Linked DNA regions of Homo sapiens: region 1 is linked to region 2. The links are contacts of gene promoters, found by promoter capture Hi-C in human tissues and cell types (Jung and others, 2019). All regions are on one chromosome and are shown on one strand. Each heading gives the region's core, a stretch centred on a gene start or on the middle of the fragment in contact. The rest is flanking DNA. Distances are from core to core; before and after follow the strand shown.

Region 1 (3,892 bases), core at 1,049-3,548, 70 kb after region 2:
CTATGCTGGAGTGCAATGGCATGATCTCGGCTCACTGCAACCTCTGCTTCCCAGGTTCAAGCGATTCTCTTGCTTCAGCCTCCCGAGTAGCTGGGATTACAAGCACTCGCCACCACACCCAGCTAATTTTTGTATTTTTAGTAGAGATGGGGTTTCACTGTGTTGGCCAGGCTGGTCTCGAACTCCTGATCTTGTGTTCCACCCGCCTCGGCCTCCTAAAGTGCTAGGATTACAAGTGTGAGCCACCGCGCCTGGCTATTACTTTTTTCCGTGTAGAAATGTTTGGTTTTTGTGGAGTCAGGTGTATCCATGTTTTCTCTTACGGCTTTTGTGTTTTTTGTTATATTTAGAAAAGGCTAGACCAAATCAAACCTTTGTTTTTGCCTAGAGATTTTTTCTTCATTCTTTAGTCCCCCTACCTTTGATCCAGCTAGAACTGGTTTTTGTTTTAAGGTGTGAGGTAGGGGTCCAAGTGGATTTCCACCCCCAGATTATCATCCAGTGATTTCAACACCATATTTTCCCAGAGGTTATGCTTGACTGAGTTGTTGAGACTTTAGGAAGTGTATGACAGGGGAAATAGCACATCCTGTTGCCTGGTGGGTGGAAAGGGGCAAACTTTGTCAGGACACCATCCCCAGTAGGACAGGGTGAGCTGGGTGGGATTTACCTCCTGGAGGTTGAGGAAAAGGAGGTAAAGGTCCATGGGAGGAACTGCACTTGACTTTTCCCTTGGATTCCAGGAGCAGTCCATTTTTGTACCCAATTTTAACTTTGCCTGCCACATCACAATTCCTTCAGTAGACTTTGTGACTTTGACATAATCTTTTTTTTTCTTTTCTTTTTTTTTTTTTAGACAGGGTTTCACTTTATCACCCCAGGTTGGAGTGCGGTGGCGCAATCTCGGCTTACTACAGCTTTGACCTCCCCTGCTCAAGCGATACTCCCACCTCAGCCTCCTGAGCAGCTGGAGCTACAGGCATGCAACACCGTGCCTGGCTAATATTTAAAAAATTTATTTGGAGAGATGGGGTCTTGTCATGTTTCCCGGGCTGGTCTCCAACCCGTAGGCTTAAGCAACCCACCTGCCTTGGTCTCCCAAAGTGTTGGGATTACAGGTGTGAGCCACCGTGCCTGGCCCCATGCCATAATCTTGAGCTTGAGGTGTAGAAAGGAACTATATTCCTTCCTGAGGGCCCTCTGCTGGGGGTTCCTGAGCAAGCCTCCCCTCTTCCCCCCACCCCTGCCCCTGCTCTGGAACTAGGGGTGGTGTATTATGACACAAGTAGGTGACAATGGGGTGTGGAGGAGAGCCTCATGGGACTCAATCCAGGTCCTGCAAGAAGAAGACCAGCAGCATTTGTGAGTAAGGCGAGGACAGGGCAGGCAGGGCCCGGCTAGGCCGCACCCACCTCCCAGCTCCACCTTCTCCCTGCCTGCCTCCCAGATCCCACTCTTCCCTCTCTTCCATACACCAAGACCCATTGTGTGTGCCCCTGGATGTCATTTGGGCCCTCTGTTCCCCTTAGTATAGTAGAGGCCAGACAGGCATCCCTGATGCTAGATTGGCCTTGCTAGCATTCTGGAAGGCTATGGTGGGCAAATGTCTGATGGCACCTGGGGAGGCTCTGAACCAAGCTGAGTGAGGGCAAAGGTTGCAGGCCAGGATGCTGACCTGGAGCAAGGAGTGCATATTCTACCTCCCTGTGCCTCTGCTCCCTCAGGAGCATCCTTCCCTCCACTGCCTTCTCCAATTCCTTCTGGGAACTGGAATAGCAGGTGTTTTAGGTGCTTTACGTCTTTCAGCCACCAGGTGGCAGCAGTGCAAGCCCTACTCTGCCTCACTCCATCCCCTCCTTGGAGCTGTGGATTTAACCTCCAAAGAGACTCTGAGGTCCTCCAAAGAGTTGAGGAAAGATGGGGTCATGCCCCCCCACTCCCCCAGGCACAGGAACCCCTTCAATCTCAGAGGAATGAGGGGCCTGTGGCCCTGGCTCCCTTCCTAGCCCCACCCCTGTAGAAGCTGCTGGGGCAGTAGCTGAGCTGGAGGAACAGACTGGATGCTACTAGGGTGAGCCTCAGGGTCTAGGCCCCCTGAGATGCCCACACTGACCAGGCCCACTAATTCTCAGATGTCAACCAGAGAGGACCCTTCCTGGAGCCCAAGGAGGCAGGGAGTGTAGAGGGAGAGAAGAGGAGCCAGGACCTGGCTGGCTCCTCCACTGCCCCTGCCTGGTTACCCACCCAGGGCTCAGCACCAGGGTGGTGGTAAAGGCTCTGGCACTGGCCTCCCATGGGCTGAGCTGAGCTGGGCCCCAGAGCTACCCCCCCCACCACCCCACACACACCTGTGGAGCACACCTCCCCTCCTCCCCACAGAGGGCGGTGTCCAGGAGGGTTTATGGATTCTCCCAACATATTGTGCCCTCCTCTGCCCCATCTTGTCCCCATTCACAACCCCTGCATCAATAAGGCTGCACCAACCTCCTCATAGTCCACTACAGCTCCATACCCCTCTCATTTGTCTCCATCATTGGGGGTGGAGGTGCCCTGACTTGCTAATATCTACATGCACCCCCCTCTGGGTTCCAGCCACAGGGGCCAGCCCAGGCAGGGCTCAAGGAACCTGCTTTCTGGGTGTGCAAGGTCCTTGGGTCCTGGCCATCTGAACCCCCTCTGAGAGCCTAGATCCAAACCCATAAGCCTTTACATGGAGTCCCTCAGAGATGGGCAGCCTGTTGCCCTGGAAACACTCCTCTTGTTTCCTGTCCATGACCAGGGCCTGCCTTATGCTGACCTGAATGACCATGGGGACTCAGGCACTCATGGATGGGTGGGGAAAGCAGCTGGGACCTCGGTTCCTATGCAAGGCTTGGTGAGGTGCCTCCTCTTTGGGGCTCCCCAGTGCTAAGGGGAGATAGATAATAAACAGGTGTGTCAACAAAACAAGGCATTTTCAGGCTCTGGAGGAAACCAACCAGGACTGCATGGGAATAAAAATGGAGGGGGCAGATTCTGATGGCGATCAAGGAGGGAGGGCACCTTCAGCACTGGCTGAGACCTGAATGTCAAGAGTTGCTGGCCATGCAGGGATCTGGGACAGAAGGGTTCCAGATGAGGGGAAAAAAACAGCAAAAGCAAAGGTCCAGAAGATTCTTGGGGAAACAGCAGGAAGCTGATGTGGCAGGAGGGGAGCGGCATGGGCAAGGAAATGCCAGGGCAGAGGGGAGGGCCTGGCCTTACTGCGTGGAGAGGCCAGAAAGGACAGCAGGGGCAGATGTGGGAATGAATGAATGAAGAAATGAACAAGGTCTGGGACCAGGCCTTTCCAGCAGCCTAGTCCTTGCCCTGAGGTCTTTCTTGGTCCACTTGACAAATGGGGAAAACCCACCACTCCTTGCTCTGGCGGAGGCTTGACCCACAGTGCAATTGAGGGCCTGGCAGGGCTCAGCTTTCCAACCTGAGACAGGGCAGAGCCAGCCGACCTCTGCTGATACTCTCAGCCCCTGCGTCAGGGAGGGTGGGGTGGGCGGATGGCCCCCATAGGCTACGGAGAGTTGGGTCCCAGCTGCCCAGGAAGATCCACTGCAAGAGGTCTCCTTGACTCCCTGGCCCAGCCCAGAGCCATCCCTCAGGCCCAAGGCTGCCTTGCCAGGCCCTGACCTCCACCTCAGACAGGAATCATTTATCTCCATCAACTGCTCCCAGCAGCCAGGCCCTCGGCCAGCAGGTGCTGTCTCCATTCCATGAGGTTGACACTGGGCAGCCCTTCCTCCACTCTCAGTCTCATCAGCTGGACTCCCCAGGAGGAGGCCAAATCAGGCAGCCCCTGCACAGTCTGCAGGGGCTTAGAGGAGCGACCCCTTCCCTCCAAGCCCCCAGAAGACCCAGC
Region 2 (3,555 bases), core at 1,054-3,553:
TGGAAGGCCAAAACCCTTGGAACCCTTTGGTTTACACATAGACTGCATAATCACTGACCTGTAGGAGATACTTTCAAAGGGACACCCATGGTGCTCTGACATGGACAGGCCTGGGGGCAGAGAAGCTTCACTGAGGACCTTAAAGCTGGATGTCTAGGAGTCGGCAGATCACCAGCACCCATAGAGGAAGTAGGAGGAAGTGTGTAGGCTCCTGGCTTAAACCATTACTTGCCAGCTGGGAGATCTAAGTTATATTGTAACCTCTCCATGCCTCAGTTTTCTCACCTGTAAAGAGGAGATAATATGTGGTAGTTGTGACAATGACATGAGGCTGCAAATTGCTGAGAGTGCTTGACACATAGTAAGTGTTCAGTTGAATAGTCATGGTGAGGGGGAAGAAGTATAGTTTTGGTAGAGAGCTTGGGATTTGGCCCCATAAGAGACCCAAGTTCAAAATTGTAACTCTGTTGCCTGGCAGCGGCAAAGTCCTTTTGTCTTCATAGTAATGAGACAGTGGACAGTTCCTACTGGCAAGTCAGTGGTCCACACAGGGGCCGCATATCAGGCTATCCAGGTATCCCAGCCCTCAAAGTGGGTTATAAGGTATCCATCCCCCCTACCCCCATTCCAAGAAAGTGGCTTCTGGCCAACTCAGGAGGGGGCTGGCAGAGTTGCACTCATGAAGCCCGGCTTCCCTTCAGGAAAGCTACAGAGAAGTGACTGCCCTGAAATCTGAAACTTAACGTTTTTTCCCCAGTTTCACAGGGTTTTGCTTTCAGGTTTCTTTTGCCCTCTGCCATTCTGGGCAGAGCAAACTGAGCCCTGTCTTCCCTGGATGCTATCGTTCAGGCCCTTCAACAAGGCCAGGGGTCTGTCATCCCTGCCCAGGATCTCAGAGCTAGACTCCTTTCTGGGGACCCTGGGGGCACACACTGGGAGGGGGATGGGGGTGGGGAGTGGACCCTGCAACCTCTCCAAATCCCACAGTTCTTCTGGCCCAAGGGTTTGGAGGAGATTCACAGACCCTACAGTCCTTCAAGATGCTCCATAGTGAATCCAGTGAACTGAAAAAAGGTGGAGAGGGTCCTGGTAGGAGCGTGGGCTTCTGATTCAGAGCTGGGACCAAGCTCTTACCCTGCCATTTCCTAGCATTTGTTCCCTGGGGCTGTCTTCTGTCCGCATAACGGGAGCAACACCAGTTGTAGAGGATCAAATGCAGCAAGTACTCCCTGTAGATAAGAGCGAGTGTTACTACTCTGCCCCCGCCATCCCGCCCCAACCTCTATCACCCTACTCCCAGATTATCTCCCTATGTTTTGAGTTGCAGGACTCTCTCTCAGCATTTTTTTTCTGGCGGGGGGTGGGGGTGGTACCAACCCAGAGTCCGGGCCATCTGGGGCTGTCTCTGCTTGCTTTCTCAAATCTGTAGTCTCTTCTCCCCTGACTGGCAGGGCCGGCCAGAAACCAGTGCCAGCCAAGACTGGATGGTCTGCCTGATTCGAAAAGTTGGGGCGTGCTTTCTCCTTCAACTCTTTCAAAGAAAACGTTCTTGTCTGGATCTTTCTGGCTGTGGTGACCGCCGGCTTGACCTCAGTGGACCCACTCATTTCTGGAACTGTCCTCTGCACCCCGCCCTGCCCTAAGTCCCGCTCCAGATCTCACCCCATGCCACCCAATCCGACACCCGACACACAGAGTCCTAGGGTCCAGGAGCGGCCGTCCCAACACGGGGCGCTTGCACACGCCGACAGACCTCCTTGGAGGAGCCGCTCGCAGGGAGGACAAGCCCGGGACTCCGCCCCCCGCCCTGCCACGAGTTCCACCGCGAGATAAGAGGGCCCTTCCCCAACGACGCAGAATGCCAGAAGGCAATCTGGGCGCGGGTTGCTGAGCCCGGGCCCCTCCTTAACTTCCCCGACCCGGTCTTTCCCCACTGATCTCTCCGACCTGCCCCTCTGGGTAGCTTCAGCCCCGGGTCCACGCGCTGCTATTGGCCCTCCCCGACCGCTCGGCTCCACCTTCAGCGTCGCGATTGGTCAGCTCGCGGGGCCCCGCCCCGTTTTCCTGGAAAGTTCTTGGAAATCTGTCAAAGTATTTCCTTTCACTGCTCAGGGCCCCAGACCCGGCGACGGGGCCCGCGCACCCCGCCCGGGCCCCACCGCTCAGCCCGCGGTTCTAGGAAGACGCTGCTTCCGGGAAGGGCTGGAACGCGGCAGACAAAGGATTAGGCAGCAGCTCGCCCCGCCCCGCTCGTCTGGCCCGCCCCCCTCGCCCTCGCAGGCGGTCCGCGCCACTGCCTCTCAGTCCCTGTCCTGCGCCCGCGCGCCCCGGGAGCCTACCCAGCACGCGCTCCGCGCCCACTGGTTCCCTCCAGCCGCCGCCGTCCAGCCGAGTCCCCACTCCGGAGTCGCCGCTGCCGCGGGGACATGGTCCTCTGCGTTCAGGGGTAAGCGCGGCTCTCTGCCCCCTTCCCGGCCACCACGAGGGGCGCACGGGAGAACAGGGGCTTCGTGCTAGCTGCCGGGCATTGGGAGGGCTTGACGGGCCAGAGGTGACTGAGCGCAGACGGACCTCAGGAGCAAGGCTCTGTGTGGGGCTGTGACACTCCCACTCCCCGCCCCCACACACTTACCTCAATTCCCACTGTGGATTGGGAAACCGGGGGCTGGCCGGCTAAAGGAGGAACTCACAGGGTGGGCTCAGCCTGGGTTCTCATTGGAGCAGATGGATGCTAACGGCACGGCGTCCCCCAAGATGTGGCCAACAATCCCAGATATTCTTCTGGGCCCAGAGCACTCTACGCTAGCCTGCCTGCTGCCCTGCCTGCTAGTAACCTTGGACCAGCCCCTGGCCCCCTCTGTCCTGGTGTCCCCTCTCCTGCCCCAGGCTAGCAAGTAGGCTCTTCTTGGGAAGCCAGCCGCAGATCCTTGCCTTTCCTCAGGCTGGCACCTGATGGTCTGCAACTCTCGGGAGGCCCTGGGTTTGGCCTGGTCCTGCTTGGGGTACCCCCACAATCGTCTCACAACCCTGTCTCAGCCCAGTCTGGGATCCCAATGTGAGAAGGACCTTGGCTCCTGCCTCTCATCTTCAAATTTCCCAGACTTGAGGTAAGGGACAGTGGAGAGGGGATGCTGATAAGACAGAGTCTTGACCTGAGCTGAGCATTCCTGGCCATCCACTCTGTCCTGAACCTCAGCAACCCCTTCAACCAAAGGGTCTGATGCTGGCCATGGTGATGTGACAGGAGCTCAGGAAGCTCCAAGGAGAGAGGAAGAAGGTATAAATGGGTGTTCTGCACTCAGGGAGGACTGGGTGGCTGTGCTTATCGCAACTGGCCTGGTGCCAAGTGAGGGAGGGTGGAAGGTGAGGCCAAGGAAGAGGACATGGAGGTGCTGGGAAGACTACTTCTCCCTTGCTGTCTCCAGCAAGTTCCTTCCTCCTGTCTGCATTCTGGGACTCCTGAATACCTGCCCCACCACTGCCTTCCACCCCAGGAGCCTCCCCCTGCATTCCGGGGTCCCATAGCCTCTTTCACTTTTTACCCTAGGTGAGCAC

The links. Contacts are between HindIII fragments. The study calls those that stand out against the background at their distance.
Region 1: a contact is called between a fragment that was not itself captured here and the fragment with the promoter of CISH in region 2, in 2 of the 25 tissues and cell types used here (mesendoderm cells and small bowel).

The regions. Positions count from the first base shown.
Region 1 is chr3:50,540,545-50,544,436 of GRCh38, reverse strand. No RefSeq gene overlaps it. Among named protein-coding and RNA genes, the nearest start is that of C3orf18, 25 kb to the left of the region's middle. The HindIII fragment of the contact is 8,809 bases long and covers 1-3,892 here.
Region 2 is chr3:50,610,522-50,614,076 of GRCh38, reverse strand. It overlaps CISH (cytokine inducible SH2 containing protein), which reads left to right and starts at 2,303. Exons shown (of 3, transcript NM_145071.4): 1 at 2,303-2,446. The coding sequence starts at 2,427. It also overlaps a transcript of MAPKAPK3 not described here. RefSeq lists enhancers at 1,785-1,874, 2,784-3,344 and a silencer at 1,955-2,434. The HindIII fragment of the contact is 7,054 bases long and covers 1-3,555 here.